2 separate regions of the Homo sapiens genome follow, and region 2 is linked to region 1. Evidence: promoter capture Hi-C in human tissues and cell types (Jung and others, 2019). All regions are on one chromosome and are shown on one strand. Each heading gives the region's core, a stretch centred on a gene start or on the middle of the fragment in contact. The rest is flanking DNA. Distances are from core to core; before and after follow the strand shown.

The links. Contacts are between HindIII fragments. The study calls those that stand out against the background at their distance.
Region 2: a fragment that was not itself captured here is called in contact with the fragment with the promoter of PPIC in region 1 in 2 of the 25 tissues and cell types used here (spleen and stomach).

The regions. Positions count from the first base shown.
Region 1 is chr5:123,033,182-123,040,376 of GRCh38, forward strand. PPIC (peptidylprolyl isomerase C) reads right to left here and starts at 3,544. Exons shown (of 5, transcript NM_000943.5): 1 at 3,328-3,544. The coding sequence starts at 3,444. It overlaps PPIC-AS1 (PPIC antisense RNA 1), which reads left to right and starts at 2,741. Exons shown (of 2, transcript XR_001742868.2): 1 at 2,741-3,107. RefSeq lists silencers at 2,240-2,412, 3,721-3,770. The HindIII fragment of the contact is 11,652 bases long and covers 1-7,195 here.
Region 2 is chr5:123,330,800-123,337,994 of GRCh38, forward strand. No RefSeq gene overlaps it. Among named protein-coding and RNA genes, the nearest start is that of CEP120, 89 kb to the right of the region's middle. The HindIII fragment of the contact is 3,696 bases long and covers 1,690-5,385 here.

The sequences.
Region 1 (7,195 bases), core at 2,294-4,793:
TCTGTCACAGTAGGATTAAGAAGATAAACACAAATAACACTAACAAGTGACTTCTGAAATCAGGGACTATGGACTATGTGCTTTACCTGCTGCTATGGTTTGGATATTTGATCCTAATGTTGGAGGTGGGGCCTAATGCGAGGTGTTTGAGTCATGGGTGTAGATCCCTCATGAATGGCTTGGTGCCATCTCAGTAGTGAATGGGTTCTCACTTTGTTAGTTCCCATGAGAACTGGTTTTAAAAGGAAGCTGGCACCACCCCCTTCAGCTTCCTCTCTCTCCACGTGATCTGCACCTGCCTGCTCCCTATCACCTTCCGCCGCCGTGACTGGAAGCAGCCTGAGGCTGTCACCAGATGCCCAGTCTTGAATCTTACAGCTCATAGCAGAGCCGTGAGCTAAATAAACCTTTTTTCTTCATAAATTGCCCAGCCTCAAGTATTCTTTTATAGCAACATAAATGGACTAAGACATCTGCTTTACCACATCTAATGTGCAAAGCCCTCCCAGGTAGGGATGATTTCTATCTCCATTTGACAAAGGAGGAAACTGAGCTGTGGACATTAGATAACTTGTCTAAGGCCATCTAGCCACAGCCTCCTGGCCACTACATGCTAATGTGCTTGCAAGCTGTAATATGTGTGCAGCTGGAAGGATGGTGGCATTATTTCATACACTCCCGATGCCGGATCCTGCACAGATCCCATGGCATTGGTTCAGAAATATAGGTCAGCAAATGTAATTCTGTGGATTTGGAGCCCAATGAGCCAGAGCCCCCACCTGAGCCTCTATGGCTGGGGCAGGAAGCTGCCAGGCTGGCCCAGCAGCAGGATCTGTGGACCAAGTTAGTGCCACTAATGGGCCATGTGGGCAGAATAGCACCTCACACCTCTCTTATTTACAGATTCCTATTTTTAAATGAAATCAGAGGTAAACAAAAACACTGCTGGGGAAAACAATACACTAGAGCAATGGCCAATTAATGTACTTGTCTGCACTCAGAGAAATTATTTTTAACGTCATTTTCCAATAGATTTAGTTGTCTTTACAAGTTCATGAAAAAGTAATTTAACAGAGCAGAATCTGTTTAAGACGCACCTACACAATCAGCTTTTAGAAAAACTTAATGACAAATTTGGTAGGGGGAAAAAAGACATGTTAAGTAACAATTCTGAGAGTAGGGTGCATGCAAACTCTCCCTCAGTGACAGTGTCACAGACAAGGGTTTAGGATGCTCAAACCCTTCCCCTCCTGCAGCCACCAGCTTCCTCCTCTCTTGGCTCCATCTTCCAGTGGTTCCCCGCCCACACTGCCTGCACATCAGAATCACCAAAAGCTTCTAAAAGATAGGATACTGAGCCCCACCCATACAGATTGTGATTGACTTGCTCTGGGGTGGGTCACTGCATCAGTAAGTTTAAGAAGTTTCCCAGGTGAAACCTGTTCCCAAATATTGCAGGGGACGTACTTACACTAAAAACATTTATTCATTGTTAATCTGATATTCACATCTAACTGGGCATCCTGTATTTTATTTGGCAATCCTATTCCCTCTCCCTCGCCCCCTTTCTAAACCGTCAGCAACTCCTGTTAGTTATATCTCCAAAATCTATTTCAAGTCCTTCCCTTGCTCCCCATTTCAATGATTACCACCCTAATCCAAGCCACCATCTGGACTCTGGCATGGTGCCCTGAATGACCTCCCATTTCACTCTCCACTGAGTGACCACATAAATTTCTCGAGTATATATTGAGATCATGCCATTCTTATGCTTAAAACCCTTCAGTGGCTCTGACTGCAGAATAACACTTCAAATTTTAAGAATTGCCTCAATACCCGCATGCCTACCTGCAGCCTCTAAGGCCCTGTGTGATTCCGCTGCTGCTCACCCCTCCAACCTCATCTCAAGTCACCTCTCATTCTGTGCTGAAGCCATTCCGTCCTCTCCACATCCTCTGAATGCAGGGAGGGCTTTCCTGTTTGAGGACCTATGCATATGCAGTTCCCTTTGCCTCCTTAGTCTTCTCTGCGCTGGTTTTTCTCATTTTTCAGCTATTTTTAAATGTCACCCAAAGTATATTACAGTTTATTTCCTCCAACATTTCATAATTGTGCGAATTTTATGTTTATGGCTTTATCCCAAGAGACCCCGTTCAGCTCTGTGGCCTTGCACAAACCATTTCCCAAAGTTAGACATGCCTACAAGATCAAGAGGCTGGGAGTAAGATCAGAGCTTCTCGAAACCATCAGGCTGTTTATCAGCCCCGCCCACAACGTGGCACGGCCTTTCTGCGACATCAGATGCTGAGCTGGACCTCCTCCTCCCCACCCCCTAGTCCTCCCCGTCCTCAGGTGGCGTCTGCGGTCGAGGATGTAAGCATTCTACTCGTTGATTAGTATCGTTTCCATTGACAAACCCCAGACTGATGAAGACCACTTTCAGCTGCAGCCCGCCCCCTCCAGCTTCAGCTTCGAAGACACTATTGCCAGTGGGTTTTCTAGAAGTGGTGATCATGGGCACCAAATTATCCCCTCCCTCTCCCTGCATTCTCCCATTATCGTCTACCCTTGGTTAAATACGCTGAAAAAAGAACTGAAGCGGAGTTAAGTACGAGGAAGCCTTAAAGACGCACTTTCTGGCAGCCCCCCGCCCCCTTTCCCCGCAGTGGAGGCTGCCCCAGGTCTACAGGTGCCGCCTTCGCCCGGCCTCGCGTAGCCCACAGCAGGGGCCGCCCGCCCGCCGAAGTTGAAGGCGCACCTCCCCTTCCCGGGAAGGACGACGGTTCCCCAAAAGAGGCGGAGGGTAGTCTCTCATCTGAACCAGGCGCTTTAATGCCTGCCTGAAGCCACCGCGGCCAGCGTGGAGACCACGCAGCGGGCGGGCGGCTGCAAGCCCTGGGCTCCGAGCGCCTCTCCTGTGCGGGTCCCGCCCCCCTCCCCGCATTCCTCTCGTTCTGCTCCCGAGCCCAGGCCACGCTGAAGGAAGTACTTGGGCAGTCTCTTTCCTGGAGAACGGGCCCGCCGGTTCCGGAAGCCTCTCCTACCCCCAGGCTGGTCACCTCGGACTACCGACCCGGGACAAGAAGTCCAAGCAGACTGCGGCGGAGGTAGGCTGGCCTCAGCCCAGCTCCCCCAGGGTCTCCCCCGGAGCGCCGGCCTCCCAGCACGCGAGCAGCCCCCTCCCACCCAGTCCCGCGGCCGCCTCCAGTCCCCCTGCGCCCGGGAAGCCTCCACCTCGCCCGCCCTGACACCGAGGTCCCAGTATCCAAAGCGCCCCCAGGGCCCCGCCCGCAACAGGGGAAGTTGCAGCCCGCCGCTCTCGGTCACCTTGGCCGTCACCGAGGGGCCTCGCTTGCGGAAGCCCTCGGCCCCCGAAGAAAACACAAGTGCGCCGAGCCCCACGCAAAGCACGAGAGGTAGCAGCAGCCGAGGACCCGGGCCCATGGTGAGCGGTGGCAGCGGCGCTACCGGCACGGGCGCTACCGGCACGGGCGCGACACAGGCTCTGGGACAGCTGACGGGACTGCCGGCCGGCTGCGCCTGCGCGCTCCCGGTTGCGGGGGATGGGGATCGGGCAGTCCGGGAAGGGCGGGGACCCGGGGCGCGTTCCTCCCAAGTTCAGACTCGCGACCCGAACTTGGGATTCGGAGGAGCGCGCCCACAGGGCGCAGCCAGGGCTCGACCGCCGCGCCTTAGGCGGGTGCGGAGGGCGCCAGGGACGGGAGGGAGCCCGGGTTGCCCAGGCGCGGAGCCGGGCGCAGCGGGCTAGGCTGGGAGCACCTCCAGGAATTTACCGCGTAGGCGCGGATTAAACTTGGACGGGAAGACCAGGACTCTCGGGCTTCCGCGTCCGCCCGGCAGCTAGCGCTCCGCGGGACTGGGAACTCTGCAGCCGGTCCCGGTGTGATTGCTGCCGCCTTGGGAGCAGCCTCCGCCGCGGCCGCCGAGTTCCAATGGCCCATTGGAACCTTTTGCTAGGTTTTGGACGCTTAGCAGAACTTTGACATCGCTGGAGGCGTGGAGCCCTGTTGCACTCGAATAATGGCCTCTCTTTGAGATGATTCACGTCTAGGGAACACTGGAAAATGCTGGATTCACAGTGCCCCTTTGCCTTCGAAAAACTTTTACATTGGCTTTAAGTACTTTATTTGGAGGATGATTCTGTGATCTTATCTACACTGTTCACAAGGCAGCACTTACACAGGCCCAGAACCATGGTCATGTAGGATTCTTTCCTGGGGAAACAAAGTAAATAAACTGACTTTTAGGTGTATCTGTAGGATGGATTTTTTACAAACTTAAGAATTATGTTTAGGAAGATTAATGACTGGGGAAGTAAGTTCTTATTATATTTTTAAATGGAAAATTCGGGTTGCAAAACCACAAATTCTGATCTCAACCGTGAAAATAAATATATCAAGGCACTTAAATATTGAAAGAGATGTACCACAACGTTTACAGTAGCTATAGATAGAATTGATAGCTATTGATAGACTTATGGATTTTTGAGGGTTTAAAAAAATTTTTTTTACAGTTTTCTGATTTCCCAGATGTTCTACAATGAGCATATAAGTATTTTATAACATGGAAAGGGTTATTTTAAAACTCATTGCTTTTTGAATTAGAATTTCAAAAGAACTTTTTTGTTTTAGAGTAACAGCCCTAAAATTAACTAAAAATTAGTGGTATTCGCACATAGGTGCCATTTTAAGGGGCTGGTGCCATTACTTTCAAGCCAAGATTTTCCTCGGATTAAGAGATGGAATTTCTAAATGTCAGATGGGATTCCTAGGTGTACCTAAGTGTAGATCTAAAATGACATTGGAACCATTAGAGATAAAAGGAGTAACCACTACTTCTTTGGGGTGAGAAAAAGGAGAAATGCAATTCTGAGCTATTTTTATGATTCAGTCCAGTGAAAGACCTAATGGCTTTCCTCTTCATCCCCACCCCCAATAAGGAAAGAGTCCCCCTTGTGTAGCAAGACAAGGGTATCTCTCAGAGCACTTACCCTACGAGGTGACTGTGAGGTGATTGTATATATTTATCTGTGTTCATTAATTGTTTTTGTCTGTCTGCTATCAGAAGTAAGCAGGGCCAGGGCAGGGATCAGGCCTATATTTATTCCCCTTTGATGACCCAGATCTAGTGCAATGCCTGATATATAGTGATTTCTCAATAACTATTTGTTGAATGAATGAATGTGTCCAACTACTTTTTATGCTACCACCATCTCACCCTCTAGGCAAAGAAATGAAATCTTTCCCAGCTCCCTAGAAACTCCTCTTATACCCTCTGCCAGTTACAAACACTTTTTTCTGCCCAAATTAACTGCAATCCTGACTTTTCTTGTACTATAGTTTAATTTTGTTTTAATTTTATTTGAATAGGGTATTACCGTATGTATTTCTTTTTGCTTAAATTTTTGTGAAATTCATCTATATTTTTGCATATAACTATTTTGGTGGCTAATACAAAGTAGGAAGCAAATTCATTTTTTTCATAAGAATATTCATTTATTTCAGTACAGTTTATTGAAAATTCTCCCCTTTAACTCACCGCTCCATACTGTTCTTCTGTCACAGAGCAAGTGCCCATGTATGCATAGGTGTGTTTGTGGGCACCCTATCTGTCCCATTGGCCTATTTGTCTGTCTTTGTGCCAATACTACATTGTCTTCATTAAAATAGCTTTATAATAACTCTTCATATTCAGTAATACATACCCTCTTAGCTTTGTTCAACAAATTCTTGGCTGTTCTTGAGCTTTTCCATGTCCATATAACTTGAGAATCAGCCTGTCAGTTTCCACACACTGAGATTTTGATGGGGATTGCACTGCATCTGTAGACCATTTAAGACTTGGCAAATTTACAATATTGAGTCTTCTAATTCATGAACATAGCATATTTAAGTCTTCTTTGGTTTCTCTCAATAAGATTTTATAGCTTTCTGCCCAGAGGTCTTACACGTATTTTATTAGTTTGATTTCTAAGTGTTTTTTTATGCTATTGTCATGTATTGTAGTAAAATTAATTTATATATTAACTTTGTATATACCAACCTTGTTAAACATATTCTAATAATTTATCTGTGAATTGTTTAGGATTTTCTCCATAGACAATTATGTCATCCATGAATAATGACAGTTTTATTTCTTCTTTTCTAATCTTTACATTTTGTATTTCTTTTTTGGCCTTTTTACACTGGCTGGGATCTGCAGTACAAAAGGAAGTGGCAACAGTGGGAGTCCTTGTATTGTAGACTGAATTATCCTCCAAAAAGATATATTGAAGTCCTAAACCTTGGTATCTGTGAATGTGACCTTATTTGGACTGCCTTTGCAGACGTAATCAAGTTAAGATGAAATCATACTGGAGTAGGGTTTGCCCTACTCTAATATGACTTGTGTCCTCATAAAAAGGGAACAGACACAGACACACGCACAGAGAACACCATATGAGGATGGAGGCAGAGATTGGAGTGCTGTATCTACAAGACAAGGGATGCCAAAGATTGCTGGCAACCCCCAGAAGCTAGGAAGAGGCAAGGAAGGATTTGCCCCTAGAGCCTTCAAAGACAGCATGGCCTTGCCAACACCTTGATCTCAGCTGCTAGTTTCCAGAACTGTGAGACAATGCATTTCTCTTGTTTGAAGTCACCCAGTTTGTGGCACTTTGTTACAGCAGCCCTAGGGGGCTCATACACCTTGTCTTGGTCCCAGTGTCAGAGGGAAAGCTTCAGTGTTTCACCATTAGGCATGATATTTGCTGAAGGTCCTTTTGGGGGATATCTTTTTTCAGATTCAGAAAATTCCTTTCTAGTCCTTGTTTGCTAAGAGTTTTTAGCATATATTTGATTTAAATTTTATTAACATCATCTATTGAAATCAATTGAAATAATTATGTGATTCTCTTACTCTGTTAATGTGATGAATTGCATTGATTTTCAAATCTTAACCCAAGCTTACATTCTGGAATGTGTCCAACATGGATTATCCTTTTTATATATTACTAGATGTGGTTTGGCAATATCAGTTTATTAACAAAGTTGCCAAAAACTGAATATAGACTATCTTCTGAAGTTCAGGAAGAAAAGAGTGGGTAAAATGTGGCTCTGGCTGTCCAGCTGAGACTGAGTTCGTCACCCACATGTCATTTCAGTGTTAGTGGGTAAATCTGCTAATCTTATTTTCA
Region 2 (7,195 bases), core at 2,288-4,787, 300 kb after region 1:
TTACTTTTTTTTTTTTTTTTTCCTTAGGAGTGTCTAGGCTATGCAGGCTGTTTTTTGGTTTAATATGAAATTTAAAGTAGTTTTTTCCAATTCTGTGGAGAAAGTCAATGGTAGCTTGATGGGGATAGCATTGAATCTATAAATTACTTTGGGCAGTATACCCATTTTCACGATATTGATTCTTTCTATCCATGGGCATGGAGTTTTTTCCATTTGTTAGTGTCCTCTCTTATTTCCTTGAGCAGTGGTTTGTAGTTCTCCTTGAAGAGGTCCTTCACCTTGTAAGTTGTATTCTTAGGTATTTTATTCACTTTCTAGCAATTGTAAGTGTGAGTTCACTCATGATTTGGCTCTCTGTTTGTCTGTTATTGGTGTATAGGAATGCTTGTGATTTTTGCCGTTGATTTTATATCCTGAGACTTTGCTGAAGTTGCTTATCAACGTAAGAAGATTTAGGACTGAGACAACTGGGTTTTCTAAATATACAATCATGTCATCTGCAAACAGAGACAATTTGACTTCTTCTTTTTCTAATTGAAAACCCTTTATTTCTGTCTCTTGCCTGATTGCCTGGCCAAAGCTTCCAATACTATGCTGAATAGGAGTGGTGAGAGAGGGCATCCTTATGTTGTGCTGGTTTTCAAAGGGAATGCTTCCAGTTTTTGCCCATTCAGTATGACATCGGTTGTGGGTTTGTCATAAATAGCTCTTATTATTTTGAGATATGTTCCATCAATATCTAGCTTATTGAGAGTTTTTAGCATGAATGGGGTGTTGAATTTTGTTGAAAGGTTTTTCTGCATCTATTGAGATAATCAGGTGGTTTTTGTCATTGGTTCTGTTTATGTGATGGATTACTTTTATTGATTTGTGTATGTGGAACCAGCCTTGCATCCCAGGGATGAAGCTGACTTGATCATGCTGGATAAACTTTTTGATGTGCTGCTGGATTCAGTTTGCCAGTATTTTATTGAGGATTTTTCCATTTATATTCACCAGGAATATTAGCCTGAAATTTTCTTTTTTTGTTATGTCTCTGCCAGGTTTTGGTATCAGGATGATGTTGGCCTCGTAATATGAGTTAGGGAGGATTCTCTCTTTTTATATTGTTTGGTATAGTTTCAGAAGAAATGGTACCAGCTCTTCTTTGTACCTCTGGTAGATTTCGGCTGTGAATCTGTCTGGTCCTGGACTTTTTTGGTTGGTAGGCTATTAATTACTGCCTCAATTCAGAACTTGTTATTGGTCTATTCAGAGATTTGGCTTCTTCCTGGTTTAGTCTTGAGAGGGTGTATGTGTCCAGGAATTTATCCATTTCTTCTAGATTTTCTAGTTTATTTGTATAGAGGTGTTTATAACATTCTGTGATGGTAGTTTGTATTTCCGTGGGATTAATGGTGATATTCCCTTTATCATTTTTTTTTGCATGTATTTAATTCATCTCTCTTTTCTTTATTAGTCTGACTAGGGTTCTATTTTGTTAATCTTAAAAAAAAAACCCAGCTCCTGTATTTATTGATTTCTTGAATGGTTTTTCGTTTGTCTATCTCCTTCAGTTCTGCTCTGATCTTAGTTATTTCTTGTCTTCTGCTAGCTTTTGAATTTGCTTGCTCTTGCTTGTCTAGTTCTTTTAATTGTGATGTTAGGGTGTCAATTTTAGATCTTTCCTGCTTTCTCTTGTGGATATTTAGTGCTATATATTTCCTCCTCTGCACTGCTTTAAATGTGTCCCAGAGATTCTGGTATATTGTGTCTTTGTTCTCATTGGTTTCAAAGAACATCTTTATTTCTGTCTTCATTTTGTTATTTACCCAGCAGTCATTCAGGAGCCGATTGCTCAGTTTCCATGTAGTTGTGCAGTTTTTAGTGAGTTTCTTAATACTGAGTTCTAATTTGATTGCACTGTGTTCTGAGACACTGTTTGTTATGATTTCTCTTCTTTTGCATTTGCTGAGGAGTGTTTGACTTCCAGTTATGTGGCCAATTTTAGAATAAGTGCAATGTGGTGTTGAGAAGAATGTATATTCTGTTGATTTGGGGTGGAGAGTTCTGTAGATGTCTATCAGGTCTGCTTGGCCCAGAGCTGAGTTCAAGTCCTGGATATCCTTGTTAATTTTCCAATATTGACAGAAATATTGGGGTGTTAAAGTCTCCCATTATTATTGTGTGGGAGTCTAAGTCTCTTTGTAGGTATCTAAGAACTTGCTTTATGAATCTGGGTTCTCCTGTAATAGGTGCATATATATTTAGGATAGTTAGCTGTTCTTGTTACATTGATCCCTTTTACCATTCTGTAATGCCCCTTTTTGTCTCTTTTGATCTTTGTTGGTTTAAAGTCTGTTTTATCAAAGACTAGGATTTCAACATCCCCCCCTTTTTTTTCTTTCCATTTGCTTGGTAACTTTTCCTCCATCCCTTTATTTTGAGCCTATGTGTGTCTTTGCATGTGAGATGGGTCTCCTGAGTACAGCACACCCATGGGACTTGACTATTTATCCAATTTGCCAGTCTGTTTCTTTTAATTGGGGGCATTTAGTGCAGGTACATTTAAGGTTAATATTATTATTTGATCATGTCATCATGATGCTAGCTGGTTATTTTGCCTGTTAGTTGATTCAGTTTCTTCATAGTGTCAATGGTCTTTACAATTTGGTATGTTTTTGCAGTTGTTGGTACCAGTTGTTCCTTTCCATGTTTAGTGCTTCCTTCAGGAGCTCTTGTAAGGCAGGCCTGGTGGTGACAAAATCTCTCAGCGTTTGCTTGTCTGTAAAGGATTTTGTTTCTCCTTTGCCTATGAAGCTTAGTTTGGCTGGATATGAAATTCTGGGTAAATTCTTCCCTTAAGAATGTTGAATATTGGCCCCACTCTCTTCTGGCTTGCAGGGTTTCTGCAGAGAGATCTGCTGTTAGTCTAATAGGCTTCCCTTTGTGGATAACCTGACTTTTCTCTCTGGCTACCCTTAACATTTTTTCCTTCATTTCAACCTTGGTGAATCTGATGTTTATGTGTCTTGGGGTTGCTCTTCTCGAGGAGTATCTTTGTGTTGTTCTCTGTATTTCCTGAATTTGAATGTTGGCCTGTCTTGCTAGGTTGGGAAAGTTCTCCTGGATAATATCCTGAAGAGTGTTTTCCACCTTTGTTCCATTTTCCCCATCACTTTCAGGTACACCAATCAAACATAGGTTTGGTCTTTTCACACAGTCACATATTTCTTGGAGGCTTTGGTTCATTCCTTTTCATTCTGTTTTTTCTAACCTTCTCTTCCTGCTTTATTTCATTAAGATGATCCTCAATCTCTGATATCCTTTCTTCTGCTTGATCGATTTGGCTATTGATGCTTGTGTATGCTTCATGATGTCCTCGTGCTGTGTTTTTCAGCTCTATCAGGTCATTTATATTCTTCTCTAAACTGGTTATTCTAGTTAGCAATTCATCTAACCTTTTTTCAAATTTCTTAGCTTTCTTGCTTTTGGTTAGAACATGCTTCTTTAGCTTGAAGGAGTTTGTTATTACCCACCTTCTGAAGCCTACTCTGTCACTTCATCAAACTCATTCTCCATCCAGTTTTATTCTCTTGCTGGAGAGGAGTTGTGATCTTTTGGAGAAGAGACTTTCTGGTTTTGGGAATTTTTAGCATTTTTGTGCTGGTTTCTCCCCATCTTCATGGATTTATCTCCAAAGATTTATCAAATACCAAAGTCTTTGATGTGGTGACCTTTGGATTGGGTTTTGTTGTGAATGTCCTTTTTGTTGATGTTGATGCTATTCCTGTTTGTTAGTTTTCCTTCTACCAGTCAGGCCCCTCTGCTGCAGGTCTGCTGGAGTTTGCTGGAGGTCCACTCCAGACCCTGTTTGCCTGGGTATCACCAGTGGAGGCTGCAGAACAGCAAAGATTGCTGCCTGTTCCTTCCTCTGGAAGCTTTGTCCCAGAGGGGCACCTGCCAGATGCCAGCCAGAGCTCTCCTGTATGAGGTGTTTGTCAACCCCTGCTGGGAGGTGTCTCCCAGTCAGGATTCACGGGGGTCAGGGACCCACTTGAGGAGGCAGTCTGTCCCTTAGAAGAGCCCAAGAACTGTGCTGGCAGCTCTGCTGCTCTCTTCAGAGCTGTCAGGCAGGAACATTTAAGTCTGCTGAAGCTGCACCCACAGCCGCCCCTTCCCCTAGGTGCTCTGTCCCAGGGAGATGAGAGTTTGATCTATAAGCCCTGAGTGGGGCTGCTACCTTTCTTTCAGAGATGCCCTGCCCAGAGAGGAGGAATCTAGAGAGGCAGTCTGGCTACAGCGGCTTTGCCAGGCTGTGATGGGCTCTGCCCAGTTCAAACTTCCTGGTGGCTTTATTTATAACGTGTGGGGAAAACCACCTACTCAAGCCCCAGAAATGGCGGACACCTCTCCCCCCACCAAGCTGGAGCATCTCAGGTCAACTTTAGACTGCTGTGCTGGCAGCGAGAATTTCAAACCAGTGGATCTTATCTTGCTGGTCTCTGTGGGGGTGGGATCCACTGAGCTAGACCACTTGGCTCCCTGGCTTTAGCCCCCTTTCCAGGGGAGTGAACAGTTCTGTCTTGCTGACATTCCAGACACCACTGGGGTATGAAAAGGAACTCCAGCAGCTAGCGCGGTGTCTGCCCAAATGGCCGCCCGGTTTTGTGCTTGAAACCCAGGGCCCTGGTGGCATAGGCACCACAGAGAATCTGCTGGTCTGAGGGTTGTGAAGACCATGGAAAAAGCATAGTATCTGGGCTGGAATGCACTGTTCCTCACAGCACAGTCCCTCATGGCTTCCTTTGGCTAGGGGAGGGAGTTCCCCGATCCCTTGCACTGCCTAGGTGAGGCAACACCCCACCCTGCTTCTGCTCACCCTCTGTGGGCTATAGACACTGTCTAATCAGTCCCAATGGGATGAGCCAGGTACCTCAGTTGGAAATGCAGAAATCACCCGCCTTCTGCATTGATCTCACTGGGAACTGCAGACCAGAGCTGTCTCTATTTGGCCATCTTACCAGCCACCCTCTACTCAATATTTTTAGAATTTAATATTTTCGACGGACTAATATATGCTCATTTTTTCTGAATATTTCAAGTAATCTTGTAAAGGTTGATTTTCTGTTCTCTGATTATAGAATGCATATCTGCAAATTATGCCTTTTAATAATATTTAGTGCCAGGTGTGGTGGCTCACACCTGTAATCCCAGCACTTTGGGAGGCTTAGACGGGTGGATCACCTGAGGTCAGGAGTTCGAGACCAGCCTGACCAACATGGTGAAACCCCATCTTAACTAAAGAATACAAAAATAAGCCAGGCATGGTGGCGGGTGCCCATAATCCCAGCTACTTGGGAGGCTGAGGCAGGAGAATCATTTGAACTCGGGAGGCGGAGGTTGCAGTGAGTTGAGATCGTGCCATTTTACTCCAGCCTGGGTGACAGAGCAAGACTCTGTCTCAAAATAATAATAATAATAATAATATTTAGGTCTTCTATGTTCTTATTTTTTTCTCACTCCCTTAATGCAGTGAAGGAAAGAAGCCTGCAAACACAGAGAATCAGAAGCAAGAGCATACAGAGAGGGTCCTCATGGTATTAATCTCAATACCATTTCCACCATTCTTCATTACTGCCATCGTTTTTACATGGCAATTATTTTCTATTTGGTGCTTAGCGATTTCAAAATGGATTTCTGTCACTTACAATAAGAGCATTGATTATGACAATATTCCAGTTCACTAATATTTTCCCTAGCTTTAGTACTTGCTAATCTGTATTTTCTCTTTCCTTCGATAATTTGTTCTTTTCCTTTTGAATTAAATATAATTTCGCAAAGCGCCTCAAATTACCTGTGAAAGGAAGCAAGCTATAAACCTGAACATAATATCAAATAACTCCAAATATAATACTTTTTCCCCTCTGCTGCAGCTGCCTGTCATGGTAGTCTGTGATATATAGAAAAGGTAACTCAGTTTCTGTAGTCTTTGATTCAACATTCAAAGGAGGCTGTGATACATTTTTTAAAGGTTTACTTTTAAAATGGTTAAAATAAGCAGTTTCCAATGGAGTAAATACTAAGCCTCAGTTATCTGGAAAATCTACTTATGTGGAAAAGTACATGCTGGGCGTGGTGGCAGGTGCCTATAGTCCCAGCTACTCCAGAGGCAGGAGAATGGCGTGAACCTGGGAGGTGGAGCTTGCAGTGAGCCGAGATCACACCGCTGCACTCCAGCCTGGGCAACAGAGTGAGACTCTGTCTCAAAAAAATACATGCATACATACATACATACATACATACATACATACATACATACATACATACATACAAAAAGACAACCAAGGGTGGGTTGGCAGCTGTTATTTTAGTACTGGTATTTTTAAAAAATTCAACATCTTTATTTAGGTTTAATTGCCATAAGATAAATACGTGCCACAAAATAGTAAGTGGCACATATTTAAAGTATGCATTTTGAAAATTTTGACATGCATAAACCTGTAAAACTATCACCTGAATCAAAATAATAAACCTATCCATTACCCCTAAAGTTTCCTCATGCCACTTTATAATTCCTCCATCTTGTTCATTTCCTTACCCAGCATCCCAATGGGAAACAACCACTGATCTGCTTTCTGTCACTATAGATTAATTTTCACTTTCTAGAACTTTCTATAAATGGAAGCATACATAATGTACTTTTTGTTGGGCTTCTTTCATTCTGTGTAATTATCCTGAAATTCCTCTATGTTGTTGCATGTTATCAGTAACTCATTTTTATTGAAGAGTAGTATTTAATTGTATGGATATGTCATAGTTCACCCATTCATCTGTTGAAGAACATTTGATTTCTTTTTTAGCTACAAAGCTTTTATGAACATTCATGTACAATTCTTTGTGTGGATGTATGCTTTATTTCCTGAGTAAATACCTAGGAGTCCATGGTCAGTCTATGCAGTCCATTTAATTTTAGCCATTTTAATAGCTGTGTAGCAGTGTCTCATTGTGGTTTTAACTTGCATTTTCCTAATCAGTAAGGATGTTGAGCTTCTTTTCCTGTACTGACTGGGTATCCGTATACGTTTTGTAGTGAAGCATTTATGTAAATGATTTATCTTTTTAAAAATTGAGCTGTTTTCTTATTGACGCTCAAAAATTCTTTATGTATTCTGGATATAAATCCTGTATCAGATATATGATTTGCAAATATTTT